Linked DNA regions of Homo sapiens: region 1 is linked to region 2. Evidence: promoter capture Hi-C in human tissues and cell types (Jung and others, 2019). All regions are on one chromosome and are shown on one strand. Each heading gives the region's core, a stretch centred on a gene start or on the middle of the fragment in contact. The rest is flanking DNA. Distances are from core to core; before and after follow the strand shown.

Evidence for each region. Contacts are between HindIII fragments. The study calls those that stand out against the background at their distance.
Region 1: a fragment that was not itself captured here is called in contact with the fragment with the promoter of HIPK4 in region 2 in 7 of the 25 tissues and cell types used here (dorsolateral prefrontal cortex, lymphoblastoid cells, mesenchymal stem cells and 4 more).

What each region holds. Positions count from the first base shown.
Region 1 is chr19:40,354,446-40,357,219 of GRCh38, reverse strand. The region is part of intron 1 of PLD3 (phospholipase D family member 3); the gene reads right to left. Among named protein-coding and RNA genes, the nearest start is that of PLD3, 7.1 kb to the right of the region's middle. RefSeq lists an enhancer at 1,118-1,307. The HindIII fragment of the contact is 9,182 bases long and covers 1-2,774 here.
Region 2 is chr19:40,388,810-40,391,509 of GRCh38, reverse strand. It overlaps HIPK4 (homeodomain interacting protein kinase 4), which reads left to right and starts at 1,329. Exons shown (of 4, transcript NM_144685.5): 1 at 1,329-2,072. The coding sequence starts at 1,608. RefSeq lists enhancers at 877-1,426, 1,427-1,976. The HindIII fragment of the contact is 19,093 bases long and covers 1-2,700 here.

The sequences.
Region 1 (2,774 bases), core at 107-2,606, 34 kb after region 2:
AAACAGAAATGTTCTCATGTTTAATGGTGCTGATTTTCACTAGATGGTACAGACCTCTTTGGACTAAACCATCAATTGTTTCTGACCTCTTTGGACTGAACCATCAATTGTCTACAGAAAACGGAACAGAACACTGGTTTTGCAAACTGATTTTTCATTTTCAGCAGTTAGATCTTTTATTTCAACGGACCCTTTAAAATAAGTGCCCCTCCTAGGGAGAGAAGTCAGTCAGTCTGAAAAACAATTAAATAGGTCCAAAAAGCATCATGAATGATAAACACTTCTGAACTGGAACTTAAAAACCCTAAGCTGTCTCACTCCTGCTCAAAATCCTTCTGTGGCTCCCCATTGCCCCCAGGACAAAGGACAAACTTCTTACCATGTCCTACAGAGCCCTACATGGACAGGCCCCTGTGGACCTTCCCCCATCATTACAGCTTCAATTCCCTCTTTCTCAACCCAAAGCTCTGTCTTGTTTCCTCCTTTCCCCTGACTCCAGCTCTAGAGGTTCCAGGGCCCCCCAGATACCTCCTTCAAGGTGTCCCCAGACTCCCACACCTACTATGTCCCCAACTGTCCTTACCATCTTCCTGCCCCAGGTCCCCATTTCAAGAAGAGCTGTTGAACCCATCCTTCAGGTCTCAGCCTTGGTGCCTCCTCCTCCAGAAAGCTCTCCTTGACTACCCCCAGCCCTGGGCCTTGTCCTGGACCCCAACCATTTGTCGACTTGGTCCTGTGAGGGTCTCTCCAATTCGCCCTCCCCCACAAGCTCTGACTTAGTCTCTCCCACCTGGGTCCCCACTCCAGCCACCTCCCTTGGCTTCCAGACTCCACTCAATCCTTGCAATCCGACCTCCACGTGAATTTGACACATCCCTCTCCTGCTCAAAAACTCTGTGGCTCCCCGGTGTCCTCAGTACACAGTCTCAGCTCCTCACTGTGGCTGACAGGGCCTTGAATGATCTTCCCTGAATGACCTCTTTGGCCTACTCTCTCACCGTTCTTCCCACCCCAGCCATATTTATGATCTTTCAGTTCCTTGAACCAAAACCACACTTTCATCACCAGACCCTCCCACAGCTGCTTTCCCTGCCGAGCACACCTTGCTCATTTCTGTCCGCTCACATACCACCTCCTCCATGAAGCCCTCTGGGCTCACACAGTCCCCTGGGCCTCCCTTTCCCAGCCCTGATCCCTCTGCCTATGCCTCCTAGGGAGAGAAGACGGTCAGTCTGAAAAACAATTAAATAGGTCCAAGAAAGCATCATGAATGGTGAACACTTCTAAATTGGAACTAGAGAAATCTAAGCTGTCCCACTCCTGCTCAAAATCAGTGCTGTGATTAGCTGGCAGTGCTTGCTGCTGGCAGTGCCTAATGATGGGTTCGTCTCTCCTATTTGACTGGGAGACCTATGACGGCAGGTCCAGGCTATCTAACTCACTGCCATGTCCCCAGTACCATGGAGCATAGGAAAGTGCATAGCAGGTGCTCAGTGGCCAGTTAATTAATCTATTAATTCAACTAATATTTAATCAATAATGACTTGCTGACAAGCCCTGCTCCAGAAACTGAGATTGCAGGAAAAAAAAAAAAAAAAAAAAAAAAAGGAGCCGGCACGGTGGCTCACACCTGTAATCCAAGCACTGTGGGAGGCTGAGGCAGGCGGATCATCTGAGGTTGGCAGTTCGAGACCAGCCTGGCCAACATGGAGAAACCCGTCTCTACTAAAAATACAAAATCAGCCAGGCCCTGGTGGCGCGTGCCTGTAGTCCCAGCTACTTGGGAGGGTGAGGCAGGAGAATCACTTGAACCTGGGAGGCAGAGGTTGCGGTGAGCTGAGATCACGCCACTGCACTTCAGCCTGGGCAACAAGAGCGAAACTCTGTCTCAAAAAAAACAAAAAACAAAAAAAAAAGGAAAAAAAATCTTCTTAAAGATGTTATTCTACTAAGGGAGTGAGGGAGTGAAAATAAATGAGTGAAATACATGGAATGTGCCTTGGAAAAAAATAAAGCAGGGGAGGGAGACAGTGGCATCACAACTGCCAAAGGCTTATGTCCCAGTTCAAAAATAACAACAGGGTCGGGCATGGTGGCTCATGCTTGTAATCCCAGCACTTTGGGAGGCCGAGGTGGGTGTATCACTTGAGGTAAGGAGTTCGAGACCAGCCTGGCCAACATGGTGAAACCCCATCTGTACTAAAAATACAAAAATTAGCAGGGCGTGGTGGTGTGCATCTATAGTCCCAGCTACTTGAGGGGGCTGAGGCATGAGAATCGCTTGAACCTGGGAGGCGGAGGTTGCAGTGAGCTGAGATCATGCCACTGCACTGTAGCCTGGGCGACAGAGTGAGACTCAGTCTCAAAACAACAACACAAAAACAAAAATAACACAGCCGGGCACGGTGGCTCACACCTGTAATCCCAGCACTTTGGGAGGCTGAGGCAGGTGGATCACTTGAGGTCAGGAGCTCGAGACCAGCCTGGCCTACATGGCGAAACCCTGTCTCTGTTAAAAATACAAAAATTAGCAGGGCGTGGTGGTACGCACTTGTAATTCCAGGTACTTGGGAGGCTGAGGCAGGAGAACTACTGGAACCCGGGAGGCAGAGGTTGTAGTGAACTGAGCTTGCACCACTGCACACCAGCCTGGGTGACACAAGACAGTGTCTCAATGAAAAATAAAATAATAATAATAACATGGCTGGGCACAGTGGCTCACTCACACCTGTCATTCCAGCACTTTAGGAGGCCAAAGCAGGGAGATTACTTAA
Region 2 (2,700 bases), core at 80-2,579:
GCTGGGACTACAGGCATGTGCTAACACACCCGGCTAATTTTGTATTTTTAGTAGAGACGGGGTTTCTCCATGTTGGTCAGGCTGGTCTCGAACTCCCGACCTCAGGTGATCCACCTGCCTCAGCCTCCCAAAGTGCTGGGATTACAGGCATGAGCCACCGAGCCCGGCCCGCTGTTAAATATTCTAATCTGGCTGGAGTGGTGGCTCATGTCTACAATCCCAGCACTTTGGAAGGTTGAGGCAGGAGGATCACTTGAGGCCAGGAGGATCACTTGAGACCAGCCTGGACAACATAGTGAGACCCCATTTCTACAAAAAATTAAAAAGATAAATAAAAATGAACACTTTTTTTTTTTTTTTGAGATGGAGTCTCGCTCTGTCACCCAGGCTGGAGTGCAGTGGTGCAATCTCGGCTCACTGCAACCTCCACCTCCCGGGTTCAAGCTATTCTTCTGCCTTAGCCTCCCGAGTAGCTGGGACTACAGGCGCCCTCCACTATGCCTGGCTAATTTTTAGTATTTTTAGTAGAGACAGAGTTTCACCGTGTTAGCCAGGATGGTCTCGATCTCCTGACCTTATGATCTGCCTTCCTTGGCCTCCCAAAGTGCTGGGATTACAGGCGTGACCCACCGCACCCAGCCAAAAATAAATACATTTTCTAATTTGGCCTCAACATCTCCCCCAAGCTGCTTCTTATCCATGTCCATTTCTCGGGGACTGCCCCTTCATCCCAGAGCCCTAGGCCCGTTCTTAGACAGCTCCCGCCTTTCCCTCAAACCGTCGGTCTCACGGCTGCTTCTCCTGGCCTTTTGAGTGTCTCATCCATTGGCCTCGCCCTCTCCTCCCCAACCTCTCCCATCTGTGCCCTGTCCTGGACTCTTTCCCTGGCTTGGGGCTTCCACTCTTACCCGCTCCAACCTATCCCTTTTCATACAGTAACTTTCTGACACTCATATCTGACCCTGCCCTCCCCTGCTCAAAGCCCTTCTGTGGCTCCCCAGTGCCCTCAGAACAGAATCCAAACTCCTTAGCCTGGCATTCAGGGCCTTTTACAACCTCACCCCACAGTAGCCACAGACTGGGACAGGAGTTTTCTGAACACAGACACACACACATCACATCTCCCAAGCTCAAGAAGCCCACCTTTCCTCACTCCTGCCTTATCCCCATTCCTGTATGCCCAAGGCCCACGATTAGACCCCCCTCTGTCAACACTTCACCTGTTTGGTCTTTGCAAGATTCCGCCACTGGGCGGGGGAGGGGGCCCAGCCTGGTACCCCACCCCCACTCCAGCCAGGGCTCAGGTCTCCAACAACAGAACCAGAGCCACTCAACAGCGCTGGAACCCATTCGGTGGGGCCTGGGGCCCCTCATCCCAAGCCAGGAGGGTTTCTGGGGAGGGGTGCAGCCCCTGGCAGACTGACAGTGTGGCCTGGGGGTTTGGGGGTGCCAGGGAAGCAGGGGCCAACCTCATAGGAGGAGACACGAGTGCGGTTCTCTTTCCCCCACTGGGGGGCCTGCTGTGTCAGCAGCCAGGCGGGAGGCCTGGGCGGCAGAGCCAGTGGTACAGGGGCCTGGGCAGGGCGGTGTCTGGCAGCAGCGGCACCATGTCCACCATCCAGTCGGAGACTGACTGCTACGACATCATCGAGGTCTTGGGCAAGGGGACCTTCGGGGAGGTAGCCAAGGGCTGGCGGCGGAGCACGGGCGAGATGGTGGCCATCAAGATCCTCAAGAATGACGCCTACCGCAACCGCATCATCAAGAACGAGCTGAAGCTGCTGCACTGCATGCGAGGCCTAGACCCTGAAGAGGCCCACGTCATCCGCTTCCTTGAGTTCTTCCATGACGCCCTCAAGTTCTACCTGGTCTTTGAGCTGCTGGAGCAAAACCTTTTCGAGTTCCAGAAGGAGAACAACTTCGCGCCCCTCCCCGCCCGCCACATCCGTACAGTCACCCTGCAGGTGCTCACAGCCCTGGCCCGGCTCAAGGAGCTGGCTATCATCCACGCTGATCTCAAGCCTGAGAACATCATGCTGGTGGACCAGACCCGCTGCCCCTTCAGGGTCAAGGTGAGTAGGGGTCGTCTAGGGTGGCTGCGTCCCTAGTTCCTTGTCTTTTTCCCAGCTTCTTCCAGCCCTAGATTTTTTTTTTAATTTTTTAAAATTATTATTATTATTATTTTTGAGACGGAGTTTCATTCTGTTACCCAGGCTTGAGTGCAGTGGCACAATCTCAGCTCACTGCAACTCCGCCTCCTGGGTTCAAGTGATTATCCTGCCTCAGCCTCCCGAGTTGCTGGGATTACAGGGATGCGCCACCACGCCCAGCTAATTTTTTTTTTGTACTTATCAGAGACGGGGTGATGATGGCATGATCTTGGTTCACTGCCTCCGCCTCCCGGGTTCAAGCGATTCTCCTGCCTCAGCCTCCTGAGTAGCTGGGAATACAGGTGCCCGCCACCCATGCCCGGCTAATTTTTGTATTTTTAGTAGAGATGGAGTTTCGCCATGTTGGCCAGGCTGGTCTCAAACTCCTGACCTTGTGATCCACCTGCCTCAGCCTCCCAAAGTGCTGGGATTACAGGCGTGAGCCACCACGCCCAGCCAATTTTTGTGTTTTTTGGTAGAAACAGGATTTCATCATGTTGCCCAGGCTGGTCTCAAAGTCCTGAGTTCAAGCAATCTGCCCACCTTGGCC